Linked DNA regions of Homo sapiens: region 2 is linked to region 1. The links are contacts of gene promoters, found by promoter capture Hi-C in human tissues and cell types (Jung and others, 2019). All regions are on one chromosome and are shown on one strand. Each heading gives the region's core, a stretch centred on a gene start or on the middle of the fragment in contact. The rest is flanking DNA. Distances are from core to core; before and after follow the strand shown.

What was found. The method cuts DNA at HindIII sites, captures the fragments that hold promoters and counts their contacts. A contact is called where the count stands out against the background at its distance.
Region 2: a contact is called between a fragment that was not itself captured here and the fragment with the promoter of HOXA4 in region 1, in 1 of the 25 tissues and cell types used here (spleen).

Annotation. Positions count from the first base shown.
Region 1 is chr7:27,128,996-27,132,994 of GRCh38, forward strand. It overlaps HOXA4 (homeobox A4), which reads right to left and starts at 1,762. Exons shown (of 2, transcript NM_002141.5): 1 at 1,123-1,762; 2 at 1-576. The coding sequence starts at 1,738. The coding sequence ends at 230. The region is part of intron 2 of HOXA3 (homeobox A3); the gene reads right to left. RefSeq lists a silencer at 1,920-1,989. The HindIII fragment of the contact is 3,192 bases long and covers 308-3,499 here.
Region 2 is chr7:26,972,704-26,976,702 of GRCh38, forward strand. No RefSeq gene overlaps it. Among named protein-coding and RNA genes, the nearest start is that of SKAP2, 110 kb to the left of the region's middle. The HindIII fragment of the contact is 3,561 bases long and covers 412-3,972 here.

The DNA.
Region 1 (3,999 bases), core at 512-3,011:
AGCAGGTTGTTCCACCAGCCAGCATCCTGGACAACTGTTCTCTCTTGGGTGGCAACCAGCACAGACTCTTAACCGGATAATGTCTTCTTTTTGATTATTCTTTTCACCAATTTGGGTTTGTTTTGGTGTCTATTATGGTCCAGATGGGGAGGGGTGGATGAGGAACGGAGCAGGAGAAGAGAAGAGAAAAGCAGGTAAGGGATAGAAACTGGTTAAGATCTCTAGAAGATTATATGGAGGAGGGAACGGGTGTGGAGGTGCTCGGGTGGGGGTGGGGATGGAGGTGTGGGCTCTGAGTTTGTGCTTTCCCTGGTGGGCCGGCAGAGGCCGAGGCCGAATTGGAGGATCGCATCTTGGTGTTGGGCAGTTTGTGGTCTTTCTTCCACTTCATCCTCCGGTTCTGAAACCAGATCTTGACCTGGCGCTCAGACAAACAGAGCGTGTGGGCGATCTCGATGCGGCGCCGCCGGGTCAGGTATCGATTGAAGTGGAACTCCTTCTCCAGCTCCAAGACCTGCTGCCGGGTGTAGGCGGTTCGAGAGCGCTTAGGCTCCCCTCCGTTATAACTGGGGTTAACTGAAAACCCAGAACCCCGAAATAGAAGGCCAAGGAGGAGGGAGCGGAAGAGAGGGAAAGGAGGAGGAGAGAGAAGGTGGGGTGGGGAAGAGCAATTGGACATCATCATTATATAATAACCTGACACCAAGTTCACGCAAGATACATAAAACGGCAAAGAAAATGTTTCACAGGCTATTGACAACGGGAAACACCCGAGAGCCATAAAGAATGGTGCTGGGCATTGGGGCTGAAGAAAAGCTTCAAAGACACATGGCCTGAAGCCTCTGCCAGGGCAATTAAATTTATGGGGGCTATAATTACTGCCCTAACAGTTTGGCGTCTCGTAAATCTCCTGATAAAGGGACCCTGGGTACAAAAGGGTTCTCATGTTGGGATCAGGCGGCTGGCTGGCGCGCACATACCCACATCTCACCGCAGCCCGGGTCAGATGGGGGCTCCCCTCCCGAGGCCCCCTTCCCCTGAGCCTCTCCCTCCTGACCCCGACCCTCGAACCCAGGCCCAGCCCCGGCCCACCTCCCGCGCCTCCCAAGCGGCGCCACGTACCGGCGCTGACATGGATCTTCTTCATCCAGGGGTACACCACGGGCTCCTTGCCCTTCAGGCCCAGCGGGCTCTTGTCGGCCAAGAGCAGCGGGCACGCGGGGGCGCTGCCCCCTGCCGGGACGCCTGGGGTGGCGGGGGCCGCCTCGCAGCGCCGCGGGGCCGCTGGGGGCACGGCGCGAGGCTGCAGGGGCGGCGGCAGCTGGGGCTGCAGGACGTGGCTCGCATGCAGGCCGTGCGCTGGGCCCTTGGCTTGCGCCGGGGGCTGCTCGGGCTGGGGCGGCCGCCCGGGGCTGGCGCCGCCGCGGTAGCCATAGGGGTAGGCGGTGTCCGCGGCCCCATGCGCGGGGTACAGCGCGGCAGCAGGGTAGGCGGGCTCGCGGGCGGTCCGCGGCGCGTAGTAGGAGGCAGTGGGCTCTCGGCCGCCGCCCGCGTGAGGGAGCTGGGGCTGCTGCAGCGGCAGGTGCTGGGTCGGGGGCGCTGGGGGCTGCTGGTAGCCGGGGCCCCCGCCCGGGCCGCCGTCTGCGCCGCCCGAGCCGCTGTGCTGCGCGTACTCCTCGAAGGGAGGGAACTTGGGCTCGATGTAGTTGGAGTTTATCAAAAACGAGCTCATGGTCATTAATTTGTGAAGTGCAAAAATACTAATTTTTCTCGCGTTGTCGTTTTTTCTGGGCTTGCCGAGGCCCCTCCCCCTCCTGCCTCGCTTCCCATCCCCCTTTCCTCTGCGCCCTTCCCCTCCCCCCGCTGTCAAGTGCCCACTCCTCCCCCTCCCGCAGACGCCGCCACCAAAGTTCGAGCCGCTCCTCCCCAGCCCAGCGCGCGCCCCGCCCCGTGCCCCACGTGCAGCGCCCCCACCAATGGGCGCACCGCGCGCGCGGACCCGGATCAGGAAACGCGCGGGTGCGTGATGGATGCTGCTGTCCGGCCCCTGGGCTGGGGGAGGGAGCAGGAGCTTTGGACCCCAGCCCCCCAGCTTTGGTTCCCGCTGGGAATTCAGGCCCTGTCAGGCTGTAGGTCCTCTCGGGAGCCCTCTGCCTGCCCTACTGCTGGCCTAGGCCTCGGGCTGTCTGGCGGCCGCGACTCAGCGCTGACCTCGGGCGCAACCCAGTCAGGCTTCGTGTCCTTCAGGGGTTCTAGGCTAACAGGCGAAAGGAAGGGCGTTGGGACCGAGGGGCATCCTGGTTTTTATGTACGCCACTGAGAGGCCACCAGACACATTTTCTCAACCGCAGATCCCCCTTCCCCACACCCTGCTCCTTGCGTGTCAGCCTGAGAGCCCTTGCTTTGAGAAGCTTGGCAGAAGCTGCAAAGGGTGGGCGGGCAGCTAAGAGAAATCGACCCAAGGATGTAAATCGAGGCCATTCCATTATAACTGGATGGACACTTTTCATTTTTTCCTTCTTTCAGAGACAATCTGTTTCGTGTTTTCCTAAGAAAAATTGGAACCTTCGTAATAGCATCTAATTTGACGGGGGTTGTCGATGTGAGAGCTAAATATGCCCGCATTTACTAGGTGCGATTGTGAGAGAGAAGGTGGCCCAAGGATGGGAATGGATAGAAGCAACACCTCCACAGAACCGAGCTTTGAAAACAATAACTTCCTATTTCAGAACTATCCCCAAACAAAAACAAGCTAAGGGTAGAATAAACACCTTGCCGGGTCTGATCGCTGATGGGTCTTTTCCAGCTAAGAATTTCATGTTTTCTCTTTTAGATCCTGCTTTCTCAGGCAGTATCTGAGGCTAGAGTTATATTTGCAGGACAGTCTATAATTTCTGAATTGCTGAAAATTAGCGTATTAACGATATCAGAAGCTCCGGAAAGGAGGGAGAGGAGACTGTTGCCTGCTATTTGGTAATTGAAATTTGATGGGTACACTAATTACGCCATTATTAACAAATAAATTACTTATTAATTCCACCTAATGTTGATCTTTGAAGTAAATACTGATGCCTTATTTGTGCTGTGTGCTTTCTCCCTTTCTTTTCTGAGTAGTAGACATATCTAGATCCTCTACTTTTCAGCCTAAATTAAAGCAGTGTAAACTAGCATAGTCACCATTCTAAAAATATTTTCATATTGGCATGCAAAAGCAAGGATTTTTCAGCTGGTGCACCTTAGTTGATTTTTCAAAGAGCAGTATAAACAGCCTTCTCACAACTGAGTCTGGAACGCAGACAAGGAAAATTATTTCCTAAGCCTGGAGACACTTGAAAAGGAATGTCAATTCTATCTTCATTCATACTGGTTACTCATATGAGTTACTAAATGCTGGAATATATCCATTTGATGGATAGTCACTTAATGCTTAGCCACATAAAGCCTATTATATGGGACTAATCTTTAAACTAATTTAGGAAAAGAGGTTAAAAAGGGGATCATATTAGCTTTCTAACTGGAATCACCCTGAAGAGGTACAAAGAGATTTTCCACGTTAGGTGTATATGAGTGTGAAGAGTGCTGTCCATTCACATGAGGCACCCTGAAAATTTGTTTTTAAAGAAATTTGAGCCACAGACAGAAATCAACACTGAGTGTAATCTTTAGCCATCCTCTCTAGACTGGAGGAAAAATTTAGAATGTGATACATCTACCTGAACCAATATCTCTCCCTAGCAAGAAAAAATAATATACACATAGGTTATATAAAATGTAATATAAATAATATATAGACATACGTATTACAAATCTGAACCCTATAAGTTTCAGGGGGACAAAAAGCATGACAAGGAAATCTTCCCTCCTTCTCATGTCATCAGCCTTGAGTACTAGGGTCTTAACCATATCTGTTTAATATTTACAGACACTAAAACACAAAATTCTGTTGTTTAGCCTCAGAACCTTGTACCAAGTTTCTATTTTTAAGTATTAACGAGACAT
Region 2 (3,999 bases), core at 942-3,441, 160 kb before region 1:
AATGTTGGCCCATCTAGCAAGGTTAGGGAAGTTCTCATGGATGATATCCTAGAATATATTTTCCAAATTGATTCTATTTTCCCCATATCTTCCAGGCACACCAATCAGTAGTAGATTTGGTCTCTTTATATAATCCCATATTTCTCAGAGGTTTTGTTCATTCCTCTTCATTCTTTTTTATCTATTCTTGTCGGCCTGTCTTATTTCAGAAAGACACTCTTCAAGCTCTGAGATTCTTTCCTACGCTTGATCTATTTTGCTATTATAACTTGTGATTGCATTATGAAGTTCTTGTACTGTATTTTTCAGCTCTATCAGTTTGGTTGTGTTCTTCTCTATACTAGCTATTTTGTCTGTCAGCTCCTGCAATGTTTTACCATGGCCTTTAGCTTCCTTGCATTGGGTTACAACATGCTCCTTTAGCTCAAGGAAATTTACTTTTATCCACATTCTGAATTCCACTTCTGCCATTTCAGCCATCTCAGCCTCAGTCCAGTTCCAGACTCTTGCTGGAGATGTGATGTTGTCATCTGGAGGAAAGACAGCACTCTGGCTTTTTGAGTTTTCAGTATTCTTGCACTGATTTTTTTTCTCATCTTTGTGGACTTATCTACCTTCAATCTTTGAGGCTGCTGACCTTTGGATTAGGTGTTTGTTTTTTCTTTTACCAGTCTAGCCCCTTTTCTGTAGGAATGCTGCAGTTTTCTGGGGGTCTGCTCCAGGCCCTGCTTGCCTCAGATTTTCTAGTACCTGGAAGTATCACCAGTGAAGGCTGCAAAACAGCAAAGATGGCAGCCTGCCCCTTCTCCTGGAAGCTCCCTCCCAGGGAGGTATGGACTTGTTGCTGGCCCAAACGCACCTGTAGTGGGTGACTAGAGACCCCAGTTGGGAGGTCTCACCCAGTCAGGAGAAATGGGATTAGAGACCTGCTTTTAGAAGCAGTCTGGCCACATTGTTGTAGAGCAGCTGTGCCATGCTAGGGTATCACTTCCACCTGGTCAGCTTGGGCTCTCCAAAGCCCACAGGCTGGAACAGCTGAATTGCACAAATTCCCCAAAGAGCAACAATGGTGGCCCATTTCATCCCAGGTAGGTGTGACACTGTTTCTGGTGGTTGGCTGGAATTCCAAGCCATTGTGTCTTATCCTGTGAGATGCCACAGAAATGGGGCCCACAGACCATTGCTGCTCAGCCCTCTGGATTCAGCCCCCCTTCCTAGGAGTGTGGATAAAGGTCTAACCTCCTGCCTTGCCAGGAAGCCTGGAGCCAGAGTATGTAAAGCTCCTGGGCTTCCATGCATGCCTGAGCAGCTGCTCTGTCAAGACTCCATGCAGCCCTGTGTATCAGACTGAAGGCCCTGGTGGAGTGTGGTCACGAGGGAGTCTCCTGACCCAAGGGTTGCAAGGGTCCATGGGAGAAACATGGTTTCCTGGGGTTGCACCTTCACTCACTGCTTTCCTGGGTGGGGGACATTCCCGTGGCTCCATGTTGCTCTTGGGTGGGTCATCATCCTATCATGCTTTTCTTCATTCTCCATAGCTTATTTCCTTGATTAGTCCCAACATGCGTACCTGGATGCTTCAGTTGAAGATGCTATATTAACTCACCTTTTTCAATGCTTCAGTTGAAGGTGCTGTATTAACCACCTGTCCATGAGAGCCACAGACCGTAGCTGCTTCTAGTCAGCCATCTTGGCCCCACCTCTACAATGACATTTTCATTTTATAACCTTTGGAGGTTTCATAACTAGGGAAAGCGTGCTGGTACTGATAATTAGTAACCTTTTACAGTACTTAGTAAAAACATTTTAATGTCTTTTATTTATTTTCTTTTTTTTTTTTTTAACGGAGTCTCGCTCTGTCACCCAGGCTGGAAGTGCAGTGGTGCGATCTTGGCTCACTGCAGCTCCACCTCCCAGGTTCACACCATTCTCCTGCCTCAGCCTCCCGAGTAGCTGGGACTACAGGCGCCCACCACCACGCCCAGCTAATATTTGGTATTTTTGGTAGAGATGGGGTTTCACCATATTAGCCAGGATAGCCTTGATCTCCTGACCTCGTGATCCACCCGCTTCAGCCTCCCAAAGTGCTGGGATTACAGGCGTGAGCCACTGCGCCCGGTCCTTTTATTTATTTTCTACGTTGCATATTCACTGTATGGCCTGGGAGAAAAGACGGCTGGTTTTTAAAATTCTCAGATTGGTAATTTGTTCCTCCTTCTAAGTCTTTGCCTTTGGTTTAAAAGAAAACATACCCTTTACTTTGTCTAAGTTAAGGTATAATTTCACTGTATCCATCAGTAAGTAGTACTTAATCTAATATAGAACTTGAATTAAGTCATAGAGTGAGGCTTTTTTGCTTTAAGAAAAAAATCTTACTGCTTTTTCAAAACAACCCAGCTTGTTTCTTGTTACTATAATAATCCATACTTATAATTACTCATCTAACCTAAAGGAAGACAAGAGAATCTGGTGTTTTGTATGTAAGATCTATAAAACCTACAGTCAATTAATTTCACCCTGTAATAATTGTAGATAATCTGAAAACATGAAGTAATTTATTTATAATCCAAAAGGATCATGTAGGTTACCATGTTTATGTGATCAAATTTTAGTTGTTATAAATAGATCATCTACAAATAAATCTTTAAAAATAATTATCAAGTTTTTTTCTCTGCCTTTCACTTTGTGTTACTTCATACAGAATAAAATCTGTATAGCTATAATCTGGCATTGATTGAATTGCCTCATTGTGTCTACAGGCATTCCCCCAAATATACCACAAATATACCACATGCTCTTCCATATCATATTCCCCCAAATATACCACATGCTCTTCCATATCATATTCCCCACTTTCTGGGCACTTTCCCTAAAAGACAGATCTTGGAACATGTTAGTTTTTCTGCCTAGAATGCCTTCCCTATTGTTTTTTAGCAAAGTCCCATGGATACCTTAAGTCTTACCTTTAATGCTACCACTACAGTAAAGCTTTCCCTATCTCCACCAAGCAAAGTGACCACACGTTTTGCACTTTGCTCAGTAGGATTTATCTGAGTTTATCTGTGTTTATCTGAGTTTATTGTGTTAATTCATCTGAGTTTACTGTTTATCTGTTTATTAGATCCTGAGTTTCTTGATGGCAGATACTGTGTTTTCTTCATATTCATGTTTCCAGAAACTAATTATAGCACTTACCTCAAACAAGTGCTCACTAAATATTTATGGAATTAATGGATTTATTTTCATGGTTCCCTCTCGTCATCCAAAACAGGACGCCATATAACTGTCCCAGATCACTCATGTCTACACAGGAAGCATAAACCAATTGATGGCTACAGACAGAGGGTATAAAATGACCCAGAAGGCCAAACAGACCCAAACAGACTCTATTGGGAAGTCTGTCTCGGCCAGTGAACAGGAAGTTCACAAAAATAACTGTTTCTTTCAAAACGCAACATTTCTCCGTCACACAAAGGGTCTCAGTTAGTTGACAGCCTTTAAAACATAAGTTCTTTATTCCAAATTATATAATTGGCATGGAAAGAAAAATGACCTTGGAATATTAATCTTAAAAATGTAAGTTTTCTTTTGTTTAAAAAGAAAATAGGCTGGGGGTGGTGGCTCACGTCTGTAATCCCAGCATTTTGGGAGGCTGAGGTGGGCAAATCACCTGAGCTCAGGAGTTCGAGACCAACCTGGGCAATAGGGGCAAAAACCCATCTCTACTAAAAATACAAAAAATTAGCCAGGCATGGTGGTATATGCCTGTAATCCTAGCTACTCAGGAGGCTGAGGGAGGAGAATCGCTTGAACCTGGGAGGCAGAGGTTGCAGTGAGCCCAGATAGTGTCACTGCACTCCAGCCTGGGCAACAGAGCTAGATTCCTTCTAAAAAAAAAATAATAAAATAAATAAAAATTTAAAGAATAAAAATAAATAAAAGGAAAATAACGAGAAAACTAAAGTAAGGAAAGGAGCCAAGAAAAAGTATCCCAAGTTA